Linked DNA regions of Homo sapiens: region 2 is linked to region 1. The links are contacts of gene promoters, found by promoter capture Hi-C in blood cells and fetal thymus (Javierre and others, 2016). All regions are on one chromosome and are shown on one strand. The core of a region is centred on a gene start or on the middle of the fragment in contact, and the rest is flanking DNA. Distances in the headings are between cores, read along the strand shown. Region 1 holds the start of HOXA13 (homeobox A13). Region 2 has its middle 56 kb from the start of LINC03007.

The links. Contacts are between HindIII fragments. The CHiCAGO score rates a contact against its expected background, and 5 or more counts as called.
Region 2: a fragment that was not itself captured here is called in contact with the fragment with the promoter of HOXA13 in region 1 in 3 of 17 cell types (total B cells, naive B cells and total CD4 T cells); the score reaches 13.0 in total B cells.

The regions. Positions count from the first base shown.
Region 1 is chr7:27,198,528-27,205,542 of GRCh38, reverse strand. It overlaps HOXA13 (homeobox A13), which reads left to right and starts at 5,452. Exons shown (of 2, transcript NM_000522.5): 1 at 5,452-6,387. The coding sequence starts at 5,466. It overlaps HOTTIP (HOXA distal transcript antisense RNA), which reads right to left and starts at 5,122. Exons shown (of 3, transcript NR_037843.3): 1 at 5,022-5,122; 2 at 2,905-4,920; 3 at 1-831. RefSeq lists enhancers at 1-361, 362-1,086, 2,581-3,105. The HindIII fragment of the contact is 3,899 bases long and covers 2,851-6,749 here.
Region 2 is chr7:25,842,451-25,849,465 of GRCh38, reverse strand. No RefSeq gene overlaps it. Among named protein-coding and RNA genes, the nearest start is that of LINC03007, 56 kb to the right of the region's middle. The HindIII fragment of the contact is 154 bases long and covers 4,196-4,349 here.

The sequences.
Region 1 (7,015 bases), core at 4,203-6,702:
CGCCGCTTTCTCAGCGAGAAAGCCGAGCCCGGCGGGGCCAGGCTTACGTGCAAACCCCCTCCTTCCTTCAAACGCTCGAAGTCTTCAGTGTATTTGTTGACTTAAAGAATGCACTGCCCAGTCCTGGTTTCCTGTTTTGTTGCGGGCGTAAGCATCAAGCTAGGGTGGGGTGGGCGCTCGCGGGTAAAATTCCTTTGGGCCAGTGGCAGCGTCGGGTACAGAGACCCCTCGTCCTTTTCCCGTCGCAGCCGCACGGAATTCTCCGGGCCGTCCCGCGCTCGCCCAGCGCCCCGGCTGAGTGACCCGCAGGTCACTTCCTGGGTGGCACGGGCCCCTGCAGTCCAGCAAGCCGGTGTCCCCCGCGGGCTGGCCGCGCACTGCGAGAAGGCGTTTCCTCCTTCCAGCCGAGCCCTTCACCAAGCTCCCTCTGCTTCTAACGCATGCTCCGGTCCTTTCCGCGAAGGCTGTTTCCAGCTCCAGTGAAGAGCGATCAGTGGCACTGTCGGGGAAAAGAGCTCTTCCACCACCACGGCCGCTGCCGCGGCTGCCGCCGGCTTCGGAGTCACTTAGGCCTCCCAGAGCCGAGTTTTGGAGGACGGAGTTTGCGCCAGCTCTGAGGAGTCCGGGCGCGGCTGGCCAAGGCTCTGCAGTGGGAGATGCTCCTCATGGGAGTCTGGAACCTGGTTGTTCTGAAATGGTGTGTGTGGGGTGGAGGTCTCCTTGCTCAGGGACTCTCTGGGGGAAACAAGGCAGGGCTGTACTCAAATTGGAGTTTTCCTTGGGCTCCTGCCGTCTTTTCTGAGTCCCTGTGCACTAGTGGCTTTGTGGTACCTGAAAAAACAAAACAAAACAAAAAACTCTACAGGCAGCAGGAGAGCTGCTCCTCCAAAAACCTGCTGTCCTTGAGATCCACCCCATGAAGGGATCTTAAAGGCAAAGTGGGGGTCCCTGTAGATCTTCCTGGACCTTGCACTTCCACTTTCACCATGTTAACATTTGGTCACCACAGTGACAATAGCCCAAAACTATCCCACAGCCTCAAGCCTTTTACTGCCTTATTATTGTTTCAAATGCACAAAAATCTGGAACAAAAGGTTGAGTGAGTGACTCGATGCACCATTTCCCTGTCCGCTGGCCAACTTCAGCCCAGATCTCAGGACCTACCAACCCTTTCCCCTTAAGAAAGAGGGTACAGCTTCTACCTGATGGGGACACTCAAAATTCCCTCCATAAGCAGAGCAGTCCCCCACTTGCTCCTTTCCCAAATGATCTGCTCAAGTTTGGCTTCAGAGGTGCTACACTGTTTGACGATTTCGTCTTTTCTCTTTCTCTCTCCTCAGCCCCTCAACCAGTTTTTCCTCTGGATCTTTCTTCCTTTGCCATTATCTCTGTGCCCCAGCCCACCTAGGGTGGGAGAGAGAGGGTTAAGATGTTCTGCAAAAGTGGCTTGTAAAGCTGCTTGGATACATTAAAAGCACATGAATATCCTGAAATACAAAGTGTCTTTAGAATCAACCAAGGAATGTTTATCCTAGTGCTGGATGGATGCAAAGAAATAGTGCCAGGGAGCAGTGCTGACAGCCTCCTCAGAGTTAAAGTGAGAGCAGGTAAATTTCATTTGCTAATGAAAATCAAGCTCGATTAAAACCTGGTTTCCCTTTTTCCTTTTCTTCTCCAATGCTGGGAGCCCAGAGCCGCGTGGACCAGGCTGGCATCCAGTTCCCCACCCAGAAAAACCTAGCTGCGGTTTTTTTCTTCAGTGAGAGGTTTTTGGGCAACCAGTCCCTGCAGGGCACCCTGGCCTACCCCAGGAAGTAAGAAGCCTTGTCAGCCAAGGCATTTTGGAACACTGAGAAAGGCTCTGGTGATTCCTGAAATAAAGGCCGTGCTGCAGAAACTACCCTCCGGTCCTGCCTGCACTGCCCTCTCAGGGCTCCTCCGGGGAAATCAGTGCACCAGACAGTACCTGGGAAGTGACTGCAGCCTCTCCCACCTCTCCCACCTCTACTCATGCAGCCCTCTGCTTGGCTGTCATGCCTAAGGTGCCACCGCTGCCGGCCGATCCTAGTGGGTGCCCTGGCTTCCCCAGTCTAACCCAGGAGGAGCCTGAGAATATAAAATTATCAGGTTGAAGGTGCCTCTGCAATCCTATAGGAATTCCTGAGCCTGGAGAACAAAAAATCAGAGGGACAGACAGCTCAGAAGATCAGGACCCACTACCTTGGCAGGCAAGCAAATCTTGACCTTGCCGTTGGGAAAAGAGGAAAAATGCTAGGAGGGTCTGTGCTTGCTTCCCAGAGCACACCCGTCTCAATCGTCCTCCAAACTTTCTTTTGCCACAGCAAGTCAGTTTGTTGGCTGCCTGGCAGGGAAAGAAATCATATTGGGAAACATTAATAAATATCTTATCTCCCTTAGCAGAAGACAGGGAAGGAAGATTATTCTTGCTTAAAAGTGAGTAGAAATTCTGAAACTCAGACCCAAATTATTCAGAGCTCGTTCTCCTTCTATAAACGACCTCCACTGATTGGTGGCTACAACTCAATACTGACAGGACATGCAGACATTTGAAAACAGTGGGGCATGCCAGGACGCCATGGACATGTCTGGTAGAAAAATAAGATACATGTTGAGATCCAAGACAAGAAGAGAACAAGCAGGGTGCCTTCCTCTAAATAAGCATGTCTTGAGAGGGGTTTTTTTTTTTTTTTTTTTTTTTTAATGATAGGGACACATCGGGGAACTAAAAAAAGTCCAGATAAATTTGATCAATAAGGTGCACCATAAATCTCAAGAATTCAGTCCCCAAGCTTTTTCTTGGCGAGAGCGCCACATTTAAGGAGCAAAGCTTAATTTGAGATGCAATCCAAAGCCTTCCCCCAGCACCATCCCTCTCAGACAAACCTGCTTGTGGCTCCTCGGCCGACAGATGAAATCTTGTCTCACCATTTTTGGTGAGGAGGGACCCAGTCGTCTGTGGAGCTGAGACCCTTTCTCTGCGCGCAGGGTTCGGGGCTACGGTGAAGTGGGAGGGGGAGGGAAGAATGTGGAGCTGGCCTTGGCCGCCGTGTGCACCGGCAGCTGCGCCATGGCCAGAGGTGAGCTGGCACAGGCGCCGGCTAGTGGGGGCTCCCCAAGCTGTGTTTTCGTTTTTCCGGGTCTGGCCGGAAAACCGAAGAGGCTCAAAGCCCTGGCTGAGCAGGGCGGAGGCAGAGAAGAGTCGGTAAACACCGCCCCAAAAACCCCACGAAGGCACCAAAAAATTCTGGGCAGCCGAACAGAGTCAGAGGCGAGAATTTTAAAAAGAGAGAGAAAATTAAGAGTGAGGGGATGTGGGCAATGGGCCTTTTGCTGCTGCCTGTGTCTCTACGCTCGCATGGCAGTTCTCATGCTGGCTGGACTGCAACTTTCAACTTGACCTTGGCCTCCAGCCGTGTCTGACCAGTATGTAAAACCGCCTTCAAGTCCCCAGGAACAGGGGCCTAGAACCCTACTCTGTCTCTTTGTCACTGTGAGTTTTACAATGCCACTTGGAGGGAGGAAGGGGGGTGGTGAAACGGCCAGAAAGTAACAGAAAAATCAAGTCCCTACAGAGGCTAGTTCCTGAGTCTGCAAATGGCCAGTCAGGGAGAAGGTAAACTGGGGGCAAATCAATATTTACCCAGAACTGCTAAAAAGTCAAGAAGGAAAGGGCACACTTGGTGGGGGGGTGGCTGGTGTGGGGGTCATAGAAGGTTTTATTGGGCGACACTTACATTGGTCAGGACAAATCCAGGATCAGGACAGATAAAAGCCCAAGCCCAGCCACATTGGTCTGGATCCTGCAGGAAGCCCAGGGGCCTTAGACAGCAGATGGTGGGGTGTGTGTGAGGGGTGGTATGCGTGCTGCTCTGAGTTTAGGGCTGAGTGTGCAAGCTAGGAGCAGAGGACAGGTCCAAGCCTGGCTTCTCACCAGTCCGCCTGGGGTGGAAAAGAATCCAGCACTCTCCCCAGCACTATTCCGGTAATGTGCCCACTTTCACTTTGAACGCTTGTTCCTCTTCTAGGCATCTGACCAGCTCACAGTAGTGAATCAGGAAGTGGAAGTATGTGGCTCTAAAGCAGCAGGACCCCCAGAACCCCTCGACAAAACATGGCAGCTACAAGACGGGTCGCTGCTTGGTTCTTCAGCACCAACACCCTACCATGCTCCCAAGAAAAGGTTGCATTTCCCAGGCACAGAGGAAAGGCTTCTTGGACTGGTTCTTGGGCAAAGAAGGACTAGGCACCCTCTGCAGGCTGGAGATCCTACTTGAGGGGAAGGCAGGAAGTGGCCCCAAAGAGCCCCTTTTTCTTGTCCCAAAATAGAGTGAAATAGCGGGTTCCCAGATTCCTGGAGAGTCAGGTCCGGTCCACAAAGAAGCGTGGCTTTAGGGCCCAGAAGGGGGGTTTAAGTCCCAGCCAGAAGCACAGCTGGGGCTTGTTCCTCTTAAGCCCCTTCCAGAACTAAGCCAGCCATACTGGCGAGGTGGGAGCATGGATGAATGGTGCACAGGGATCGCTCGCTCTATCTCAAAGTCTCTGGAGGAGGAAGCGTTGTTACCAGGTCAGAGCAAGGATCAGGCTGTATACCTAAGTGTGCGAATGTGAGTGTGTCAGTGTACACTGTGTGTGTGTGTGATGAGTCGTTCTGAGTCTATGGGTCTAAATGCAAACATATGAAATTGCTCACTAACAGTGTGGACAGGGAAGGGATAGGGGCTCCTAAATGCAGTCCAAGCCTCCAGTGGAATGTCCTGGGACCCAGGCATATCCGCAGGAACCGATAAGCAGCAAACACCCTGCCACTGTTTCCCTGGAAAGAGCAAAATCGCAACTCCATCGAAGCCGAAGGCGCCGATGTCCGTCCTGTGGTCTCACTGCAGAAATACGCGCCGGTTCCTGGAAAGAAAACAGTCCCAGAGGCTCCAAGAAACACCCATTCTGAGCTAGGCTGGTCCCGTCCTCCCCACTCTCCCATCCCTGACCGCCGGCAGAATTACCTGACCTGTCCCCACTGCTCCAGATCGCAACCCAATCGCGCGCCCACCTCCCCTCCCCGCCTGGTTGCGCGGGTCTGGGCCCCACTGGGATAAAGGAAGGGAAGGGGGGCGGAGATGGGGCCGCCTTCCTTCCCTGCCCCACCCGCACGTTCCTCCGCCTCTCCCCCGGGTGAATGGTGCGCGGCCGCGCGGCTGGCGCTGGGGACGGCGCGGGCCGCGGCGGGGACGACGGGTGCACCGTGCAGAGCTGGAGTCGGAGCCGCCCGCTTTGCATACGCCGTGGGCGGAGCGGGGGGGCCGGGCCAATGGGCGGCCGCCTGGCGCGACCCCGCGGGGCGCGATCCGCCCCCCTCGCTCGGGCCCCGGCCCCGCGCCGCGCGCTCTTCACTTCTTGGGGGCTTTTTAAAACAGCGCCACTGGGGTCTTCTCCATGCGGCTCGGGCTATGACAGCCTCCGTGCTCCTCCACCCCCGCTGGATCGAGCCCACCGTCATGTTTCTCTACGACAACGGCGGCGGCCTGGTGGCCGACGAGCTCAACAAGAACATGGAAGGGGCGGCGGCGGCTGCAGCAGCGGCTGCAGCGGCGGCGGCTGCCGGGGCCGGGGGCGGGGGCTTCCCCCACCCGGCGGCTGCGGCGGCAGGGGGCAACTTCTCGGTGGCGGCGGCGGCCGCGGCTGCGGCGGCGGCCGCGGCCAACCAGTGCCGCAACCTGATGGCGCACCCGGCGCCCTTGGCGCCAGGAGCCGCGTCCGCCTACAGCAGCGCCCCCGGGGAGGCGCCCCCGTCGGCTGCCGCCGCTGCTGCCGCGGCTGCCGCTGCAGCCGCCGCCGCCGCCGCCGCGTCGTCCTCGGGAGGTCCCGGCCCGGCGGGCCCGGCGGGCGCAGAGGCCGCCAAGCAATGCAGCCCCTGCTCGGCAGCGGCGCAGAGCTCGTCGGGGCCCGCGGCGCTGCCCTATGGCTACTTCGGCAGCGGCTACTACCCGTGCGCCCGCATGGGCCCGCACCCCAACGCCATCAAGTCGTGCGCGCAGCCCGCCTCGGCCGCCGCCGCCGCCGCCTTCGCGGACAAGTACATGGATACCGCCGGCCCAGCTGCCGAGGAGTTCAGCTCCCGCGCTAAGGAGTTCGCCTTCTACCACCAGGGCTACGCAGCCGGGCCTTACCACCACCATCAGCCCATGCCTGGCTACCTGGATATGCCAGTGGTGCCGGGCCTCGGGGGCCCCGGCGAGTCGCGCCACGAACCCTTGGGTCTTCCCATGGAAAGCTACCAGCCCTGGGCGCTGCCCAACGGCTGGAACGGCCAAATGTACTGCCCCAAAGAGCAGGCGCAGCCTCCCCACCTCTGGAAGTCCACTCTGCCCGGTAAATGACGACCTATTCCCAGCCCTGGTCTTCCGGCTCTGCTCCAGCTTCTTCTCCGCTCGCACCCGGGCGATCCCGGGTGCGTTTCTGTTCTCTTCCTGGTCTGCCCTAGCGGCTCTGCACCCCTGGGAGCCCGAGCATGGCTGGCTGGGTCTGCCTGCACTGCCTCGAGTTGAGCTGGTCCCTGGCTCTCCCTGGGTGAGGGGTGGCTTGTGGAGACCTCGGCTAGCTTCCCTCTCCCTCTGCGCCCCGCCCTCCCCAGCCCCTGACACCAATTTAAGGATGAGAAATTGACCAGAAAACAGCTCCCCAAATTGCCCCTCCCTATTCATTCTCTCAAAAATGGCTTCAGTGTAGAAGCTTCGAGTATTGGGACGGGCACCCAGAAAGGAGGCAGGCACAGAAGTGTTGTACCTTGAGCCTGGCGCTAAGGTGTGGGCCGTTGGACCAGGCTATCACTCGAGGCTGCCTACGCGCTGCTCCTGCAGGATGGCCGGGTTGGGGAAGTCACTGGAGCCCTGGGTGATTTCATTTCAGTTCAGAACTAACTACCTTCCCCACTGACCCTCTAGGCTTTAGCAGAAGACAGGATTGTACAGCGGGTGGCAAAGAGCAGCCGGGCGCTGCA
Region 2 (7,015 bases), core at 3,023-5,522, 1.4 Mb after region 1:
TCGAACTGGCCTCAATTCGTCTGCGCTTGGAAATAACTGAAATTGTCTGACCACTAAAAGTGTGATACAACTTGGAAGAGGGGCAGGAGAATACATTTTACTGGGGGCCATAGATCTGGCTTGGGCAAGCAATCTGTGTGTATTCAGATCCTGCATGTTTCTGAAAGATGATAGATGGATAATCGAAGCACACTTCTGCAGAATTTTTTTCTAGAGTATTTCAGTCCAAAAGAGCGCTAATGTGAGCTACATAGCTCATTTTACATATTACATTATATTACACATTAAAAAAAAGGTGAAATTATTTAATAGTATTTTTCATTAAATGCAATATCTCAAAAATATCACTTCAACATGTAATCAATATAAAGTTAGTATTGAGATATTTTACATTTTTTGCCCCTTCCCATATATTCAATAGCTGGTGTGTATTTCATTCTCAGAGCTCATCTCAGCTTGGACCAGACACATTTCGAGTGCTTGGTAGCCTCAGTGACCAGTGGCTGCTTCACTGGAGAGTACCAGTTCCAGATCATCTGGGTGCGTGTACAAAGTCACTAACAGATTTCCTCCCACATTTCTGTGAAGGTCTATGAAATTTTAAGTATCATAGGAAAGATTGAAGAAAATAGGTTCTAAAGCAGATGTATATTTTGAACACTGCCATTTTAGCTCTGAGGCTTCAAGCCATGATTAAGGAATATGTGACCTTTGAAAGAAGTAGGTGATGCCTTTTATAGATTTTATTCCATTTAAAAATATATTTTTAATTATAAAAATGAATCCATACTTACTATAGAATACTCAATACAAGGTCTAGAAAATAACAAAAATCATCTAGAATCCCACCATCTATAGCTAATCACCTTTTGAAGTTTTGGAGTATTGCTGTTCTCGTATGTGGATCGGTTTCATAGTTGTCATTATACTGCAAATGCCCTTGTATATCTTGCTTTTGTTCACAGTGTTATATCACAAGTATCTGTATTTGTTGTTAAAAGCTCTTCATAAGAATAATTTTGATCATCTGGATGATTCATCATATGGCTGAGCCATGGTTTACTGAAGTCAGTGACTTTGGTAGGGTAGTAGTTGCAGTAAGCTCACTAAATGTGACAAGAACAAAAAAGTTATTTTATTGAAAAGTCACCCTACTGTGTGGCCATCCTCATCCCTCATATTGGCGGCCTTCCTTCCATGACTCTAGACAGCTCCGGGAAACCAGAGCCCTTCTACTCTTAAGCTTATTTTTTAGAAAAAATATCTTAGAAAATAATCTCCCTTTCCCCACCTAATCAATCCAGATGTTTAATTACCACGTTGACACAATTGGATTATGACTTCAGGGCAAAAAGCAACTTTACTAAAGAGAATTTGAATGGAAAACAAGAGCATTTTAAAGATCCTCATACAGCAGTTTATTTCTCTTGTTAAATTCATGTCCCTCAAGATATCACAGTACCCACTAGGTACAGATACTGGGCCGCCCTTTGTTAAATCGTAGTTGGATTTATTTTTGCTTCCCTTTTTGGCCCTCTTTCTCACCATTTGTCATTTTCACAGGCTTTAGTGACATAAATCTTGTGGAATGTTGGCTATGCACATAGCATGAAGGATTCAACCTCTCCCATTTCAGGCTGGTTGGCCAATGTAAGCAACTGAGGGTGGCAGAGATCAGGGACAGATAAGACAGGGAGAAGAAGGGGTAGAGGGACTTTGGAAAGAATACCTGAAGTACGAAAGTGACACCTTTAAGGTTAAGGGTGATGGCAATTGACTGATGATTACCAGGTAACAATGGAGTCCACTGGAAGCTGCATAACCATGAACTGTTATGATTATTTTTTCCTATCTATGTGGAAAGGCCTGGTTTGCTTCTCTGCACACAGTCCTGATTCAGTGTGGTGCCCGCATATTGTAAATGTCTTATCCAAGAATCCAGGGACCTGGCCCTGAAGGAAAAGCTGAGGACAGAGTATTTCTGCAACAGGCCTAGGCTCTTGCAAACTTGCCTTCCCAAAGCTCCAAGCCCAACTGGCCTGCAGGGGAGGCGGTCTCGCTGACAACCTGCCCTTTGGCCTTATACCTTCTGTCACAAAAGAGCCATTTTTCCTGAATTTGAAATTGAAGAATTTGATGGCACACGAGTGCTGGGGGGATTTTATTAAGCTGATAAATATGACTACAATTTACTTAAAACCAGTGGCTCTTCTCACTGTCAATGTTGTGGAGTTTATGCCTTTTTCTCTCAAGCTCTCTTTGGCCCAAGCAATTCAGGGCAGAGAGTTTGAAGGGTATTTTGTTTCTGATGTGGGCAGTCTGAAAAATAGTGGACCTTTTAACATTGCACTGACAGACACTCTCAGGGCTAATATAATTGATGTATTCATAGGAGCTTAAGCAAAATAGCTTTCCAAAAGGGAGAAAAACTTGTCTTTTCACCTAAGCACTGACCGATTTGTGGTTTGGATGCTTACACGAGATATTAAACAGACCCGATGGAAAAGGCTTGTTTGCCTCAAGTCTGACTTTCCCTCCTCTTGTAATTTTTGGCCTTGAGTCAAATTTTTGTCCATTCCCCTGCACTCCTTGGGTTGAGGCCAGCACAACGGGCTTGCACTCTCCATGGTGTTGACAGAGTGTTTTTCAGCTGTACCAAAGGCCACAGATTTTCTGTCAGACTTCAAGATACACAGCCTGATAAACATGTCTGCCTCTGGCGATTGGCAGCATTCTTTCTGGAAAAGAAAACAAAAATTGTTTTATATCAATAAGGAAAGTGGTATGAATAGCATAGAATAACACAACTTGGAAGGTGTGCCTGAGGCCTGAGCTTTTTTGCAGTATGTTTAGCTCTTCAGTTCAATTTATTTTTGAGTTCTGTCTTCACCCCACCAGCATCTGATTACTTTCATCAGCCATATGTGTCTGGTTGTGTAACAAATAAACAAATCAACAACCGATTTGTTTGGAAGGTTGGTTGGTGGTAAATGACTCCAGAATGGTGTTTGGAAAAAGTATTTTGGCTTTCTGTAGATATTTTATTTTTCATATGGGATGAAATGGCTGATTTTCGTTAACTCTCTTGTTCACTACAATTTAAAGAAACTGCATGATGTTTCTTCTCTCTGATATTTTCTAGTTGAGTTTTTTTCCCATCACTTTATTCTCTTGGCCATGTGTCAGGTCACCAAATTGGGAAATCAGCCCATGTGGATGACACAAAACTCAACTCTGTGTTACCTGGAAATCTCATCTTTGTAGAGCTGTAGCCAGCTCGGTGCAGATTCCCACAATCAGAGGACTGGATAGCTTCTTCTGACAATTTCTTGCAATCAGAGGGGATTCTTGCTTTGCCATCTTGACTTCAACGTTGACTGTTGGAAAGGAAGAGGGAGGAACACATCCTCAGAGTCAGCACCCTCTTTCTAAAGCTGCTTTGCCATTGAGCAGATGCCCTGGAAGCCTGAAGGGAAGGCTGACTTCTTCAGGTTGAACTTCCCTTTGGAAGATTGATTAAATGCTGATGATCTCTTCAGCAAGCCCATGTGGACCCAATGGCTCAAAGCCAGCCTCAGAACCTCTCCAGTGCAGGCTGCTGGCCGGATTGTACCACCTCACCTGGATGCCGGCTGCTCAAAGGCAGACGAGGCTCATGATGCCTGCTCTTGGGAGTTCCTCAGTGGCACTCAACATTAATTACCTCTCCCCCAGGCCCTTCTGCAAAGTCCAGTGCCAGATCTCTGATGTCACTGCAGGACTATGATTAAACACCAGCTCCAGATCAGCCCAGTGACAGGGAGGGTCATCAGTAATGGATTTGAAAGGGGCTTCAAGGCCCAGGGTAATATGTTATTCATTACCAATGTCGGCTGAGGAGCTGTGAACCTGTCTGTTGGTTGGTAGCGCTTTATATGACACCTCCCCAGGGTCAGTTTCTGTTTGATGAGTGGGAGTGTGCTGTAAACATGTGATGTTAGTATCTTATCAGGTAGCAGAGCTGAGTAGAGATGAAATAGTTCAGCAGTCTTAAGCAGCTTTAGAGAGCTGCCTCAGAAATAAAAATTGTTCCTTCATAGACATAGTAATTCATACATACATACTTATACACACATATATGCATGTGTATACATACATACATATGCATATTGTATGTTTGGGGATGAGCTCTGAATTTAGGACATCTTGACAAGCTTTTCTGTGCAGCTATTCTGCTTGCAGAGGGCAGGGTTCCTAACCTGGGGTGCATGTTTGATGGCCCATGGATGGGCCTGGACAAGGTCTGAGAACCTCTATGATTGTAAGTAAATTTTTGCATGGAAGGCTAAGTTACTTACCCTCTCCAAGCTTTTTCAGTCATCTATAAGATGGAGAAAATAATATCTGCCGCATTGGGTTAGGGTGAGGACTAAATAAGAAAATGCACTTAAAGCACTTAACACAACCTGTGGCCCCAAAGTGCTCTCTCAATATTAGATGTTATTATTACACTTGTTGTGTTAATAAGATATACCTTTGTGAATTTTAATTGGATCTGGGAGCCACAGATTTTTACCAGATTTGCAGAGGAAACTTTGAACCAAACAGGTTAGGAACTGCTGTCTTTGATAGCTAGAATCACTGGAGAATAAATCTCTTGCAGAGTCAAACTCACTTTGTCAGAAATGGAAGATGAAGACATGTGATTTGTGAGGTTGACCAATCTGGGGAAATTCCTGTGGTCCCCAGGAAGCTGGAAGACCCTGCCAAGTTTTATGTCACTGCTGTTTTTCTTCTACCTTCTATTAGTTGAAAAAAAGTCTTTTCTCACTCTCTTCACATTTTTTTTCTCTGAATAAAGCCTATGGGGTATAGCCATCTCATCTGTACACACACAAAGCCTGTATTCCCACGTTTCACATTCTTTTGGTGTTTTGGTTATTGTTATAATAACAATACCCTGTTACCACTCAGTCTCAGTTTATAATTATAAGATAAAAATTTCAATTGAAACCTGCAGCTTTTCGTGTGACATAAGTAAACATTGCTATTTCCATTTTACAGATTTGTGAGCTGATCCAGAGAAGGGCAAACTTTTAATACACATTCCAATTCAGAAATAATAACTCTCAATTCAGATTATGCCAAACCCATGCACCGCAGAAAACATCACAAAGACTTCCTGCAGTCCAGTGGCCCCTGGAATCGATTTACCACAAACCCTGTTGGGAAGGAAGTATCTTCCTCCTGTCATAAATCCTCAGACCCTGTAGATATGACTGAATGACTGAAACTACATGCCTGATAATCGCCATGATTTTTCACATAGCAATGAAGAGCAATAGCTGTGAAAGTTACAGAACACCGAATTACATGTAGTAAAAATAGACAGTCAAGCCCTTCATCTAAAAATTGACTTAACTGCTTGAGGAAAGAGATGGCTATAAAGTTAAATGGTGTAATTTCATGTATGGAAATGGCTGTCCTTTCTTATATTTAAAATTTACCTTAGGACATAATTACCTCTGCACAAAGCCAGTTTCTAAATGGGAAACATTCCTCCAACAGGATGTTCTTTCCATCTCTTGGGGGCCCCCATGGAATAGCGCTACTCAGCGATCTAGGGGAGAAAGTGTCAGTGCTCAGAAGCAAACTTCCTCAATGAAAGTCTCACTGGAAACTGGCCTCATCCATCATTATCTGTTCTCATCCCAAGGCAGCATGCCGGCTTTCCATCCTATGGAATTTGGTGGGAAATCTCCTCTGAGAGGATGCTGTAGAGGGTGAGAAAAATGACCCAGTGTGCAGAGGGCCCTCTGCTGGAGCTGCCGAGGAGGAGACCAGAGGAACCATTGTTTGGCCATCTTCTAGCTGACTTTAGATCCATGGCTGCTCTGAATGTAGGAACCTACTGTGTACAAGCAAGATGATAATTCAAGATCATTGTGCAAATGGCGTTCTGTTTTCCTATCTGCAGTAACATAGTTTCTCCCCGGAATTCAGCTCATTAAGGCTTTCTTTGATCTACTCCTGTTCATAAACTCCATAGAAAAGTCTGACATTGAATTTTTGTCTGAATTTTTCTTTTTATCAAGGAAGCCAAGGCCTTTTGCATTCTTCTAATTGTCATTACAGGGCAAACCCATGCAATAATGTCATGACTTATAATGCCAAATATTTTTGCTTTTGGTGGTCCCCTGAGTCTCAGAGACAGAAGCAGGAGCTACTTTGTTTATTCATGATGCATTTATTGAGCCCTTACATCATTTGAGGCACTGTCCCGGACCCTGTGGAGACTGAAGATGAACGGGACCTGGATCCTGCTCTCGAGGGGTGGGGATGAAGTGGTGAGGCTGAGGCATGCGCATATCAAGGCACGAAGGCATGTCTGAAAATGCGGGTGTTGCAGAGGTGCAGGAAATTCCTATGGAAGGTCAGAGTCAAGAGAGATTGTATGTACCTTGTACATGAGATGAGGCTTCTTGGAGGAGGTGGCATTTAACTAGGTGAATAATATGGGCAAATCCAGAAAAGGTGATATCAAGTGGGAATGGTATTTTTACTCCATTTTCCTTGAAAAAAATGACTGTAGGTACATGTATTTTTTATGGAAATTAGGGTCAGAAAATGATCTGAGTGGATTTTACTTCAACTTCCAGCTCTAGATTTTTTTTGTACAAGGCATGTGACTTTAAAGCAAGAAAAGTGTAAAAATTAAAAATGCAAGACAGAAGAGCAAGTCAATATGGGCGTTGTGGGTCACAAAGGGCATTTCTTCCACATTAGAGTAATTCATCAGGTCATTGTGCCAGATAAATATAATATCTGAAATCAAAAAGCATGAGCAAAGTTTGAAAACTCTCCATTTCCACATGTGACCTTTACCTATTTATAGAAGGAATCACAGTGGAATAAGGCAATCATCCTTTCTCGGAAAGCAAGAAGGATGCATTTCCTGGCACCGTAAATAGAATGTCTGTGAGTCTCTGGCCACCCCCTCTCCTTAGCAGACAGCAGACAGTGGACGGTAACAGCC